2 separate regions of the Homo sapiens genome follow, and region 2 is linked to region 1. Evidence: promoter capture Hi-C in human tissues and cell types (Jung and others, 2019). All regions are on one chromosome and are shown on one strand. The core of a region is centred on a gene start or on the middle of the fragment in contact, and the rest is flanking DNA. Distances in the headings are between cores, read along the strand shown. Region 1 holds the start of ITGAE (integrin subunit alpha E). Region 2 overlaps CAMKK1 (calcium/calmodulin dependent protein kinase kinase 1).

Region 1 (7,023 bases), core at 213-2,712:
CACACCCCACATGTAACTAAAAACAGAGAAGTCTAAATTGTAAAATAAAAGGAAGTTCAACAAACTGTTGACCTTTCCATGGTGACTATTCTGATGTTTTTGAAATATAAAATATTAGGCCGGGCAAGGTGGCTCATGCCTGTAGTCCCAACACTTTGGGAGGCCGAGGCAGGTCGATCACCTGAGGGCAGGAGACCAGCCTGACCAATATGGTGAGACCCTGTCTCTACTAAAAATACAAAAATTAGCCAGGCGTGGTGGCAGGCGCCTGTAATCCCAGCTACTCGGGAGGCTGAGGCAGGAGAACTGCTTGAACCTGGGAGGCAGAAGTTATGGTGAGCCAAGATCCAGCCTGGGCTCCAGCCTGGGCAGCAGAGCAAGACTCTGTCTCAAAAAATAAAATAAAATAAAATGAAATATAAAATATTAAAATCTGTCCAAAAACGTGTTCCTTGCTGGTACCCTACACATTGTGGCCTGCTTCCTGGGTGATCTGGCCCCAGGTGGGATGCTAATCCCAAGTCCCCTCCCAGCACAGCCTCAGCCCATCTTTCAGGGAGAACTCAGCTACCAGGAGCCTTTCATCCACATAAGCTTGATGCCCATCCAATTCTCCGGCCAACCTCCTGAGCAGGGGCAGGAGACCCATGGGAAGTCTGCTCAGATCACTAGGCAGGACCACCCTGGCCTCCGGCTTAATCTTAGCAGCCTCCAGGGGCTCACCTGACCGTGCTGTCTCATCACAGGGGGCCCCCGAAAGGACTCATGGCTTGGCTTGCCCAGAGGCTTCCATGGGACAGTTAAAGGCTAAAATGGGACCCCCCAGGCAGCAGAAGTGCCTCCCCCCACCCCACATTCCAGTTTTTACCCTGGGCCTGACAACACAGGAAGCAGGCTCCCTGCCAACACTCACACCCTCTACCATACAGACACTTGCCCCCAGTCTCTGGTCAACACTCTCTCACAGGGTCCTCACCCTCATCAGCCCAACCCCTGCTCTGTAACAGAAGGGAGCTCTGCCAGGCGGAGCCTCCACACTCAGAGAACAAACTACAGAGTCAAGGACCTGCCCCAAGTGGGTGCCATGGGGAGAGGGCCTCGGTGGCGGGGGGAGGCTGGCTGGAGGAGGAACAGAATGGCAGAGCCCTGGAGTCCAAAGGCCCTGGCTGACAGAACTGGCAACACGAAGCCTCAGCCGCCCTTCCCAACAAGCCTGGGGCCCTGACCCACCGAGCAAGACTCCTTTCCTGGAGGAGCTGCCACTCTCTAACCTCTGGCTCTAACTGAGCCCCATCAGAGACAGACAGTCAAGGCTGTAGTCTGCAGACACCTGGCTGGAGCTGAGGGCACAGCAGCCCCTCGAAGCAGCGGGTGAGAGGACTTACTGGCTATGCAGAGCAGAGTGTGGAAGAGCCACATCCTTGCTGGAGCAGAGGCGGCTGTGTGGGAGCCGAGGCGAGTGCGACACATGGGCCGTGGCCCACTCAGCTTCCCCTCAGCCAGGAGGCCAGGAGGCGGGGACAGAAGCACACACACCAGCAAGGACCCACAGACCGGCACTTTCAACCAAACAGAGACACTCCGGCTCGTACACAACCAGCCGTGTGGCTTCCTCAGTTGTGGGCTGGACCCTAGGAGCTTAGGGGCCACTGTCAGCCCCACTCTACCACCCACACTTTGACCCACACTTTCATGGAATAGGGAGCTGAGGTTTGGCCAGGGCCACAGTTCTAGGTGTCCTCAGCAGATGCTGGAGGTGCAGGAGCAACGTGAATCCAGCCTGCCGTTCGTATCATCCATTTGAGTCGGTCCCCTGTCCTGCCTCAGAACCTACCACCAGACATCTCAGCCCAGCTTCCAGCCCAGGGTCCTCGGTGGTGGTTGCCTCAGCACTGAGACAGGCGTCCCCCTCCCATAGGAAGTGCCTCCCCAGCCAAAAACTGGGCTCTTGTACCAGCCCATGCACTCAAGGCCCTGGGGTTCTGGAGGGCCAGGTGAGTGGAAAGACCCAACGCACTGAGTGAAATCACTGCCTCGATTCAACTTCGGCTGCGTTCATTCTCTTTAAAACCAGGACAGCAACCTGACGTGGAAACTGACTGAACAGGACTCTGAGTTACCAGAATAACAGAAGTAAAATTCTATACATCTTCCAGCATACCTGTGATGCATCCCAGCATTCCACAGAACACGCCGTTGACAGCTGGCAGTCGTGTTTAAGTGCTGATCTGAGATCTGTACTGTGTGACCAAGTCTGTGACACAGAAGGAACTCTCCTGCACCCCTGCTCCCCAGGCTGCTGGAAGTGCAGAGTGGCGCCGTCAAACAGAACTCTGCGCGGGGATGGAACTGCTCTAGGTCGACGCTGTCCAGGATGGTACTCATGAGCCACATATGGTACTAAACCCTTAAAATGCCACTAGAACAACTGATGAACTGAATTTTGTATATTTTATTTAATTTTAATTAAACGTAAAAAGGCAGGACATTCCAAGGCTCTCTAACACGAGTGTCTGCAGCCCCATTCGCTTTGAGATGTGAATGTGTTAACCCAGGGTGGACAATGGTGTTGACTTCATTACTAGATAAAAATCCATGTTATTTTGTTTCTCGCATTGAAAGGCTGCTTGGCTAAGGTTCTGTGAAGATCCGATGACATTTCCAACACTTTGCCTTGTCTGCTTTGCTCTGACAAAGTGCTTATGACTACTAGATCTTGCTCGGTTATGTGAGATTACAATTCACCGGTTTCCATCCTGTATGAAACAGAAGTTAAACAGTTGTAAAAGCAAAATTCCAGGTCTGGTGGTTTTCCTGCCAGGTCATGATGAAACCATCCTACTTCTGTTGAACCTCGTCCCAGGCAGGATCGGGGCCTGCGGCCTACAGCCTGTCTTCCCAGCGCTCCAGGGCTCGTGACCCTCCTCCTCCCCTCACTTCATTCTGCGCTCCAAGGGCACTGGGGAGAGTCACAGTGGTCTCCTCTCCCCCGCATTGGCCTAAAGCAGGAAGAGAGCAGCCCAGTCACTGAGCAGATCCCTGCTAGGGCAGGGCTAGAACCCAGACTGCAGCTCACTCGAGATTCCTGAGAGAAGACTTTGTGTTTGGAGTGTGAACGTCAGGGTGCCTCGGGAAGCCAGGGAAAGCTGATGACTGGGTGCTGGACAGGGAGCAGGGCCACTTCTGTACCTCTGCACACTTCTAGAATGCGGACTCATCCTGCATCCATCCAGTATGTATTTATCCAAGCGTCAGTGCCTCTAGTCATGAGACACACAGGGGTCCGTAAAGCCCACCTGGCGGTAGCTGCTTTCCCCACAAACCCAAACTACATCCCCAAGGTCAGGGCCAGGCTCTGTTGAGTAATGCTCCCCATCACAGCACGCAGCACAAGGCTGGCTGTTTGACAAATACACACATAACCAAAAGACATGTGAATGTGGTTTCCCAACTCACTTTAAACAAATATTCCGGGACCAACTTCAAGGACGTTCTACAACAGAAACTGGACTGTACTCTTCACAAACATCAATGTCATGAAAGACAGAAAGGCTGAGGACCTGCTCCAAACGAAAGGAGGCTGCAGAGAGGACAACTAAAGGCAGCGCTTGATCCTGGATTGGATCCTGGACCAGAAAAACAACGGCTTTCAAAATCATTATTGGGACAGTTGGCAAATTTGAAACAGGAACTACAAATTAGCAACTCCTGGGCTGATCAGAGAATATTACACATTTCCTGAATTTGAGAACTGTACCATGGGCATGTGAGAGGCTGTCCCTGTTCTTGGGAAATGTTCACTAAAACATCTTACGGATAAACGAGCATGATGTATACAAATAATCCTCAAATGGTTCATGGTTCAGAGAGGATAGGAAGAAACAGGGGTGAGGGAGAAGAGGAGGGAACGAATGAAAGAGAAAATGTGGCAAAATGTTCTTTGTTGTACCCTTCAAACTGCTGTGATTTTGAAATTATTTCAAAATAAAGTTTTAAATATTTTAAAAAATTTTTTTCTTTCTCCCCTTGATACCAGGAAGAATAAAGTTTTTAAAAAATGGGCAGGTGGGCCAGGCGCGGTGGCTCACGCCTGTAATCCCAGCACTTTGGGAGGCCGAGGCGGGCGGATCACAAAGTCAGGAGATCGAGACCATCCTGGCTAACACGGTGAAACCCGGTCTCTACTAAAAATACAAAAAAAATTAGCCAGGCGTGGTGGCGGGTGCCTGTAGTCCCAGCTACTCAGGAGGGTGAGGCAGGAGAATGGCGTGAACCCAGGAGGCGGAGCTCGCAGTGGGCGGAGATCATGCCACTGCACTCCACTTGGGTGACAGAGCGAGACTCCGTCTCAGAAAAAGTGGCCAGGTGCACTTGTAGTCACAGTTACTTAAGAGGTTCAAGCTACTTGGGAAAGCTTGAGCCCAGGAGTTTGAGTCCAATCTAGACAACATAGTATGAACCTGTCTCTTTAAAAAAAAGTTGCAAAATGTTCATGGATGGAGGAGACGTGCTCGGCGTGAGGTGAAAGGGCTGCCTGTGGGTCGGGCGTGGTAGCTGACACCTGTAATCCCAGCACTTTGGGAAGCCGAGGTAGGCGGATCGCCTGAGTTCAGGAGTTTGAGACCAGCCTGGGCAACATGGTGAAACCCTGTCTTTACTAAAAACACAAAAAATTAGCCAGGCGTGGCAGCGTGTGCCTGTAGCCCCAGCTTCGGGAGGCTATGGTGGGAGAATTGCTTGAACCTGGGAGGCGGAGGGTGCAGTGAGCCGAGACTGCGCCATTGCACTCCAGCCTGGGCGACAAGAGCAAGACTTCATCTCCAAAAAAAACAGAAAGGGCTGCCTGCTGTCTTCAGAGTGAGTCAAAAGCACTGAGGCACAGCCTTCAGACACAGGAAATGGTTCTATTCTCCCACTTGCCTTCTGACTCTTAGGAAGCCAGAAAGAGTGACGGCATTGCTGAGACCAGAGCCCAGGGCTGCAGAGCAGTGGTACTCACGACCTTTGAACACTCGGTAGGAGTGCCCTGCTCAGTGCCAAGGCCTCACATGCGAGCCCTCATCTGAGCCTCTCAGCCACCTACAAGGTCAACCCGATTTCTCAGATAAGGATGCTGCCTCTGAGAGGCCACATAGCTAGTAAGGAGCAGAGCTGGGACTCCAAACAGGCCTGTTTCCTCCAGAATCAGGACTCTGAACCACCACAAACTCTCCTGCCTTCAGCTCTTTTGGTGTGTAGACTTTTTTTATTTTTGTTTTTGAGATGGAGTCTTGCTCTTTCATCCAGACTGGAGTGCAGTGGCACAATCTCAGCTTACTGCAACCTCTGCCTCCTGGGTTCAAGCGATTCTCCTGCCTCAGCCTCCCGAGTAGCTGGGACTACAGGTGCCCGCCACCACACCCGGCTAATTTTTGTATTTTTAGTAGAGACGGGGTTTCACCATGTTGGCCAGGCTGGTCTCGAACTCCTGACATCAGGTGATCCCCGCCTCGGCCTCCCAAAGTGCTGAGACTACAGGTGTGAGCCACGTGCCCAGCTAGGTGGTGTGTAAACTTTAAAAAAGCAGAGATTTCATCCCACAAATGCAGACTGGGATCTCCACATGACCAGGTGCTGTGGACTGAACTGTAAATGTCCTCCAAATTCATATGTTGAAGCCCTAACCCCCAATGTGGCTCTTCTTGGACATATGGCTTTTAGGAAGTAATTAAGGTTAGATGAGGTCATAATCCAGCAAGATTGGTGGCCTTACAAGAGCCATGTGCAGGCACCAAGAAAAGCCTACGTGAATAAGACAGCAAGAGGGTGCTCACCATGTTGGCATCCTCCGGCCTCAGATCTGTGGGGGACTGCGGGGGTGATGGGACAGGGAGAGAACAAGGAGTGGATTTTCTTGTCCTTTCTAAGGAAGGGGCTGGGAGGGCGAGGGCTGCACTGGGTGCTGGGACCAAGGGTCCAGGGGCTTGGATCTCTTGTTTACAAACCCCTACTTCTTTCCTGCTATCTAGCCCACACCCCTGATGCTCCCCGGAAAGGAGAGCAAGGATCCTTGAACACGCGTTAGCACTAGAAGGAAACTGGAGCTCACCCCAGTTGAGCCCTCCATTTGACAGACAGGGAAGCTGAGGCCCAGGGAGGTGAGGGGACTTGCTCAGTCTTTCCAATTGAGTATGTGGGGCAGAAGGAGTCCCCAGAGCCCCGGCCCCAGCCACCATCCTATTTGACTTTCCCCAACAGGCATTCTACCTCAGCTAAAGATGCTGCCTGCCTCTCACAGGCCCTGAGGAGAAGATGGCCACATCACAGGATCGAACACTACCACAAAACTCCTAGGAAGGGACAGGAAGGTGAGAATCCTTTCTTTTTTTTTTGAGACGGAGTCTCGCTCTGTCGCCCAGGCTGGAGCGCAGTGGCGCGATCTCACCTCACTGCAACCTCTGCCTCCCGGGTTCAAGTAATTCTCCTGTCTCAGCCTCCCAAGTAGCTGGGACTACAGGTACCCACCACCACGCCCAGCTAATTTTTGTATTTCTAGTAGAGACGGGGTTCCAACATGTTGGCCAGGCTGCTCTTGAACTCCTGACCTCAGGTGATCCACCCGCCTCGGCCTCCCAAAGTGCTGGGATTACAGGCGTGAGCCACCAAGCCCGGCCTGAGAATTCTCTTCTGTCAATGGTGTGGGCCTCTCGACCTCACTAACCTATATTGGCCCAGAGGTGATGGTGACAATTTGAGATAACACAAAGTCTCAACTATTTACGAACCTGGTCATCCAGAGAGGGCCCCGGAATTGCTCAAATGAACAGTAAGAATCCTGAGGCAGGGTACTGACCTTGGTAGGTGAAATACCGCCTATACTCTCAAGTTTTATGGATAGTGCAGCCAAATTCCACTCGGATGCCTCACAACTACTTAAAATTGGCTTTTTGAAGCAGCATTTCCCTAACTACTCCCAGGAACAAAGTTCTGTGAAATGTTCATAGAGCTTCATTGAAAAAAAAAAAAAAAAAAAAGCTACAATAT
Region 2 (7,868 bases), core at 1,437-3,936, 64 kb after region 1:
GGGAGTGGGGCTGCAGTCCCCAGCCCCCTGCCTGCGGGGGCGGCTGTTGCATGAGGGGTGGGCCTCTGGAGGCGCGGGATGAGTGTGCTGCCGGGTGGCCCTGGGTGCATGCAGGGGCTCAGGATGCAGCCTCGTCTTCCTGGACGCCGGGGAGCTCTGGGCTCTTGCCCCCTTCACCAAACCCTTCTTTCCTGTTCAGGGGACACCAGGGACAGAGGGACCTCAGGGTCAGAATATGCACTCAGGGAGACACTCTCCCTCACACACACAGGAATCTGAATCCCACATCTCTCAAAGCCCCCTTCACCCACTGCCCCAAGCTTGGCCTCCCTCTGGCCTCCCTACATCACGGCAGTTGCTCCTTGCCGGTCTCTCAGCCCCCAGTCTCAGCCCGCAACGCCTCCGTGGCCCCCCATTGACCAGAGATGAAGTCTAAACCTCCCAGCACGGCCTCTGGAGCTGCTCACAGTCTGACCCAGCTGACTTCCCTACATCCTCCAACTATCAGCCTAATCAAGGGCCTTCTCTCTGTGTGTGTGGTTTTGTTGTTGTTTTGAGACAGCGTCTCGCTCTGTCGTGCAGGCTGCAGTGCAGTGGTGCAATCTCAGCTCATTGCAACCTCTGCCTTCCAGGCTCAAGCGATCCTCCCACCTCAGCCTCCTGAGTAGCTGAGACTACAGGCACATGCCACCACGCCCAGCTAATTTTTGTATTTTTTTATCTCTATAAAAACAGGGTTTCACCATGTTGCCCAGGCTGGTCTCAAACTCCTGGGCTCAAGCGATCCATCCACCTCAGCCTCCTAAAGTGTTGGGATTGCAGGCGTGAGCCACCGTGCCCGGCCTGAGGGCCTTCTGTGTTGACCTCAGTCATCCCCCAGCAGATCTGGGTAGAGAGGCTTTCATTTTGCATTTTTCTTTGCCTTGTTCACAGGGCAGAGTCCATCTATCAGTCTTGGGATTCTGTCACATATTCAACAGATTTCTATATCTAGTTTTCCTCCCAAAATGTCTCTTTTTAAAATAACCAGTAAATGGGTTTTGATATCTTTAAAAAGGACCAACTCCACTTAACTCTACTACTGAGTTTCTACAATTATCCCAAAGTATAAAAAACTCTATGGCCGGGCACAGTGGCTCACGCCTGTAATCCCAGCACTTTGGGAGGCTGAGGTGGGCAGATTACCTGAGGTCAGGAGTTTGAGACCAGCCTGGCCAAAATGGTGAAATCCCGTCTCTAATAAAAATACAAAAATTAGCCGGTGTGGTGGTGGCATGCACCTGTAATCCCAGCTACTTGGGAGGCTGAGGCAAGAGAACTGCTTGAATGTGAGAGGCGGAGACTGCAGTGAGTTGAGTTTGCGCCACTGCACTCCAGCCTGGGCAACAAGAGTGAAACTCCATCTCAAAACAAACAAACAAAAAACCAAAGCAGTCTATCAAGGATAAATATTGGGACTTGATGATGAAGTAAAATCTTCTTTCAAAGTTAAACGTGGAGGCTGGGTGTGGTGGCTCATGCCTGTAATCACCTGGCACTTTCGGAGGCCAAGGTGGGCAAATGGCTTGAGGCCAGGAGTTTAAGTCCAGCCTGGGCAACATGGCAAGACTCCATCTCTATTTTTTTTTTAAAAAGCTCTACCCCAAATTAAACTTGGGTCACAGAATTCTAGAATTTTATAGCTGGAAAGTATTAAGCCCAATCTTGTCACTCTGTTTGCCAGGTACAAACTAGACACTAAATGTATCCTTATCCTGTGTCTGGCTTGTTCCACCACTAGGGGGTGCTGGACCACAGGCTCTGAGTCAGAAGGACCAGGTGTCCGTCCACCTGCTGTCCTGGCATAATTATTATTACTTTTTTTTCTTTTTTTTTTTTGAGACAGGGTCTGGCTCTGTCACCCAGGCTGGAGTACAGTGGTGCAATCTCAGCTCACTGCAACCTCCACCTCCCAGACTCAAGCAATCCTCCCACCTCAGCCTCCTGAGTTGCTGGGACTACAGGCACCCACCACCACGCCCGGCTAATTTTTTTTTTTTTTAGAGATGGGGTCTTGCTATGTTGCCCAGGCTGGTCTTGAACTCCTGGCCTCAAGCAATCCTGCCTTGGCCTCCCAAAGTGCTGGGATTATAGGCATGAGCCACCATGCTGGCATAATAATTATTATTTTTTGAGACGGAGTCTCACTCTGTCGCCCAGGCTGGAGTGCAGTGGCGTGACCTTGGCTCACTGCAAGCTCTGCCTCCCGGGTTCACGCCATTCTCCTGCCTCAGCCTCCTGAGTAGCTGGGACTCCAGGTGCCCGCCACCACGCCCAGCTGATTTTTTGTATTTTTAGTAGAGACGGGGTTTCACCGTGTTAGCCAGGATGGTCTCGATCTCCTGACCCTGTGATCCACCCGCCTCGGCCTCCCAAAGTGCTGGGATTACAGGCGTGAGCCACCGCACCCGGCCGTGCTGGCATAATTATTAATGGCTTCCCCTTTCACTCTCAAAAATGTCCCCATTTGGACGTCAAATTATATATGCCCCCTCTCCCCCTACACTAAGCACAATTCCAGCATCAGGGGCCTACATTCCTGGATGAGCTCAGAGAATCCTCCCCCAACCGCAACCACCTCCCTGAAGAGATGACAGAAAAGCTGCAGTTGGGACCTCCAGGCCTCTCCCAGGCCCCCCACCTCATTATGAGGCTCTCCCTGGGTGCAAGCCACCTCCAGCAGGGAGCAGATGTCAGCTTGTCCACTACGAGGGGTCCCGACCCTTCTGAAGGGCCCTCTTATGAGAGGGAGGCCTCACGGGAAACCAACATGGTGGTCCCGGACAGGCCTGGTGACAGCGTGAAGCCAAGGCACCCGGACAGCGCCTGGCACTCACCCCTCTGGGGAGTGCGCCTTCCACACAGAGCAGGCCAGGGTGGGGCAAACAACTCCCACCAGCCCCTTCCCCAAAGCTTCCCTCCGGGGCCAGAGGAAGGCAGTGGCTGTCCCAGGACCACGCTGTGGTTCAGGACCCCACTGGTTTTCTCTCTGCAGGTTTGTGTACAAACTCCAGCACAGGCCTTATTAGCATCCCAGACTGGCTTTTATTATAGTGAAGAAGGTGGATCTGCTGAGGACGAGGCGCACAGGCTTGGGGAGCTGCTTTTCTGGACCCTCCTAGGAGGTGGTGAACCCACAGGCGTGGCTCACCATAGGGAGCCCTCGGCCAATGCGGGTTCCTCTCCCGTGGTCCACCGGCCAGCCTGTCCCTGCTTACTCACTGAACAAGCACTCACAAAGTGCTGACTGGGCACAGAGCCCCAGCAATGGCTGCAGGCAGCCTGGGCCACTTGGGAGAGCAGCCAACAGTCCCCAGGGCCAGGCAGAGGGGCCAGCACCCCTCCTCTACAGCCCGCCAGCCTCCTACAGGAAGCCAACATCAGCCTGTCTGCAAACCTCTGCCAGGCTGCCAAGGGCTGAGGGGGCCACAGATTTGAAGCCCCAGAGGGGCTGGACCCAGTGAGAGAGTGACATCAAGCTGCATGGAAGAAGGGTCTTCCTGTCCCATGGAGGGGCTGCGTGAGCTCCTCATCCCTGGAAGTGTGTGTGTGAGGGATGCTGGCCCCAGGAATGAAGCAAGAGCTGGGCCCAAAAGGTCCCTTCTAGCCCCGACTAACCTTGGGGACAGAGATGCAAATGGGGCCAACACCGAGACCTGGCCAAGTCCCCAGGCTCTGGCCTTGGCCCAACGACAGTGAGAGTGGGAGGATGGGCCTCAGACCTCCCCACCCAACTCCAGGGAGTGCCCGGCAGTCCCTGGCCCACCAGTACTTACACCAGTAGGTTTCCTGGAGCAGACATGGATCGCTCTTCCCTCCGTGCTTGGGGCTCAAACGGGTTCCCAAAGGAACGCTTCCTCAGCATGGACTTCACCAGGATCTGAGGAGGACAAGGCAGCGTGAGGAGCACAGGTCCCAGGCTCCCAGACACGCAGCCTCTGCTCCGATTCCCCGAGAGCAGCTGCCAAGGGGGCCGCAGTGCGGGTCCCATCTCAATCAGCACAGCATGAAATGGCAGAGGCAAGAACACGGGGCGCTGGCAGCTGGGGGCATATTCCTGGAATGGTGAGGAGCCGGATGCCACTGGTACATGAGGAGGGGGCCGGGACCAGCCCATGAAGGGTCCGCAAGGCCAGGCTGAAAGAGTGGGGAGGGCCAGGGCTGGAAGTGGGAGTCCATTAGAAGATACCTTCTCGCTACGGCAGCAATGCCATGGAGGGATGCTGTGCCATCCTTCCCGCCTTCCGGCCGCCGAGAAGATGCCAAGATGCTACTGCAGGGCGGCCCGGGAAGCGGCTGAGCCGCAGCCGGTGGCCCAGTCAGTGGGGCTGCCAGGAGGGGAACAGCTGCCGCAGCCTGGCTCTCTGCCTTTGTCCCTCCTCCGTGACAAGGACGGTTCCATGCCGTGCCCACAGACACGCCGACTCACACGCATGCAGAGAGGCAGCGGCACACTTGCCAGTCCCTTCACTCCCTCGCTTGTGTCCATCCATCCCGTCAACACTGGTCACCACTGGCTGCCTACTGGGTGCTGGCCACTACTCTAGGCCCTGGGGCCACACTGAGGCCAGAATTCCTGCCCTCATATAGCCTTTTTTTTTTTTCAGACGGAGTTTTGCTCTTGTTGCCCAGGGCTGGAGTGCAGTGGCACAATCTCGGCTCACTGCAACCTCTGCCTCCCCGCTTCAAATGATCCTTCCGCCTCAGTCTCCTGAATAGCTGGGATTACAGGCGTCCACCACCACACCCGGCTAATTTTTTGTATTTTTAGAAGAGACGGGGCTTCAGCATGTTGGCCAGGCTGGTCTCAAACTCCTGACCTCAAGTGATCCTCCCGCCTTGGCCTCCCAAAGTGCTGGGATTACAGGCGTGAGCCACTGCGCCCAGCCATCATACAGCTTATATTCTAGTTGGGGGAGACAGGCGATAAGTAAAGAAGAAAAATCAGTAAATTATGTATGTCAGTAAGTGGAAAGGAAAAAATAAAACAAGGGAATGGCGATGAGGTGTGAAGCAGGGGAGGCTGAAGCTACAGGGTCAGGGAAGGCTCGCTTCTCTCTAGGAGGGGACCCTGGCGTAAAAAGCCGAAGGAAGTGAGGGAGCGAGTCCCGTGGCCATCGGGGGTGGGACTCCCCGGGCAGAGGGAAGCGAAGTCTGAAGGCTCTGGGGCAGCCCCTTCCATGGCACGTGGCCAGAGACGAGTGCATGATGGCGGGACGGTGCACGAGCCCCGCAGAAAAACAGGGCGGGTGGTGGGGCACAGGCTGGAGGTCTGATTCTGAGGGACACAGCAGCCCGAGTGAGAAGCAGGCTCTGAGCTGGGAGGTGACACACTCATGCCACTGGGACCATGCTGGGTGCTGAGTTGAGCATTGACCAGGGGGACAGGGAGTGAGAGTAGAAGCAAGGGACAGCGTGGGAGGTTGTTCCAGTGGTCTGAGAGAGAGGAGATGGTGGCTAAGATCAGGCAAGTGGTCATGGGGACCCCGTGGGAGTTGCCTGGTTCCAGCGACCCCACAGAGTCAAGTAAGCATAGGGGGCAGGGATTGAGCCAGCTGGTCCCAGCTGGGCCGGGACCCTGCAGAGGGGGATAAAGTGCAAGGCCAGGCCCCGCCAACGGCAGTGGCCCTGGCTCTCCTCCTGGCCTTGTGCTTGCCCTGACTCACTTGACTGTCAGGCAGGGGCAGGGCAGGGCTCTCAGTGGCCCCAGGTGGCCACGGGGGACTATGTGAATCACTTCCAAGTGCCAACACAGAAGCTGAGCAGAGGAAGAGGAGCAAAACCGAAATGTGAGCGGGCACTAGGGGAGACACAGGCACTGTCTAATGGATACGCAGGATCTGGGGGAGATGCAGGCACCGTCTAACTGATACGCGGGCTCTGGGGGAGAAGCAGGCGCCGTCTAACTGATACACAGGATCTGGGGGAGAAGCAGGCGCAGTCTAACTGATACGTGGGCTCTGGGGGAGAAGCAGGCGCCGTCTAACTGATACGTGGGCTCTGGGGGAGAAGCAGGCGCCGTCTAACTGATACGTGGGCTCTGGGGGAGAAGCAGGCGCCGTCTAACTGATACGTGGGCTCTGGGGGAGAAGCAGGCGCCGTCTAACTGATACGTGGGCTCTGGGGGAGAAGCAGGCGCCGTCTAACTGATACGTGGGCACGGGGGAGATGCAGGCACCGTCTAACTGATACACAGGATCTGGGGGAGACGCAGGCACTGCCTGATTGATACGCGGGCGCTGGGGGAGACGCAGGCCCATCTAACTGATATGTGGGCTCTGGGGGAGACACAGGTGCTGCCTAACTGATACGTGGGCTCTGGGGGAGACGCAGGCGCCGCCTAACTGATACGTGGGCTTTGGGGCCACTCCTCCAATCCAAAGGCTGCCCAGGCCGTTCCCCTGCCTTGTCCTCGGCACCTTGTGCAGTGCCTGGAGAACGGAAGCTCAGTAACTGTCTGGACGGAATGAAATGCTTCTTCCAGTCACGGTGACTGCTGCCGCTGAGCAAGGGCCATCTATTTCTTTCTTTTTTTTTTTGAGATGGAGTCTCGTTCTGTCAACCAGGCTGGAGTGCAATGGCGTGATCTTGGCTCACTACAACCTCCACCTCCCAGGTTCAAGCGATTCTCCTGCCTCGGCCTCCCCAGTAGCTGGGACTACAGGTGCCCACCACTGCGCCCGGCTAATTTTTTTGTATTTTTAGTAGAGGTGGGGTTTCGCCGTATTAGCCAGGATGGTCTCGATCTCCTGACCTCGTGATCCACCCGCCTCGGCCTCCCAAAGTGCTGGGATTCCAGGCGTGAGCCACCGCGCCCGGTATTTCTTTCTTTTCTTTTCTTCTTTTTTTTTTTTTGAGACGCAGTCTCGCTCTGTGGCCCAGGCTGGAGTGCAGTGGCGCGATCTCGGCTCACGGCAAACTCCACCTCCCGGGTTCACACCATTCTCCTGCCTCAGCCTCCCGAGTAGCTGGGACTACACGCGCCCGCCACCACGCCCAGCTAATTTTCTATATTTTTAGTAGAGTCGGGGTTTCAAGGATGGTCTCGATCTCCTGACCTCGTGATCTGCCCGCCTTGGCCTCCCAAAGTGCTGGGATTACAGGCGTGAGCCACCGCGCCCGGCCCCACGCCCGCTATTTCTTTAAATCAGTCACTCTCCTCACCAAGCCTCCTGGTCTCCCGACCACAAGACCTCCCTCTCCATGGGCCTCCAGCAGAATGGCGGCTCCAGTGGCCCAGGATCACAGCTGGCTGGCCAGGCAGGCCTCTGTCCCCCCAAGGAGCCAGGCACAGAGCAAGGCTCAGGTCCCCCAGGCCCTCCAGGACAAGGGAGCATCTACCCCGGCTCTCTTACCACCGTGGTCCAGCTGGGGATGAGCCTGACTGAGTTCTTAACCTCCTCCTCTGTCACCTCCACCACGCTGCAGTGCTCCTCCTCCGAAGGAAGGGGCTCCTCCCCGTTCTTGGTCACCCAAGGGTGCAACTGTCGGGGCCGGGAGGGCAGGGAGAGGGGGAGAGGTCAGGCCATTACCAGAATCACCTGGAGGGGTCCAAAGTCCACAGACTCAAACCCAACACACATGCATCCTGGTGTTGATCCCTCCAGAAAGGGAAAGTGACTCCTGTTTTCTGTGTCCCAGCCCAGCCCAAGACCCCCAGTTCCCCGACCTTGATGTCTGGCACCCCAATTCTCGTCTCGGGATTCTTGTCTAACATCTTCAGGATCAGGTCCTTGAGCTCCTCGCTGATTTCTGGCCTGGAGAGGGCGAAGGAAGGAGAGGAGGGTGGGACCGCTGATGAGGACCCCTTCCTGTCCACCTCTCTTCCC

What was found. The method cuts DNA at HindIII sites, captures the fragments that hold promoters and counts their contacts. A contact is called where the count stands out against the background at its distance.
Region 2: a contact is called between a fragment that was not itself captured here and the fragment with the promoter of ITGAE in region 1, in 1 of the 25 tissues and cell types used here (aorta).

Annotation. Positions count from the first base shown.
Region 1 is chr17:3,799,726-3,806,748 of GRCh38, forward strand. It overlaps ITGAE (integrin subunit alpha E), which reads right to left and starts at 1,463. Exons shown (of 31, transcript NM_002208.5): 1 at 1,386-1,463. The coding sequence starts at 1,419. It overlaps NCBP3 (nuclear cap binding subunit 3), which reads right to left. Exons shown (of 13, transcript NM_001114118.3): 13 at 2,433-7,023. The HindIII fragment of the contact is 9,203 bases long and covers 1-6,015 here.
Region 2 is chr17:3,862,093-3,869,960 of GRCh38, forward strand. It overlaps CAMKK1 (calcium/calmodulin dependent protein kinase kinase 1), which reads right to left. Exons shown (of 16, transcript NM_032294.3): 13 at 7,709-7,796; 14 at 7,395-7,523; 15 at 3,816-3,919; 16 at 1-191. The coding sequence ends at 119. Among named protein-coding and RNA genes, the nearest start is that of NCBP3, 20 kb to the left of the region's middle. RefSeq lists enhancers at 5,703-6,204, 6,205-6,704. The HindIII fragment of the contact is 6,509 bases long and covers 1-5,941 here.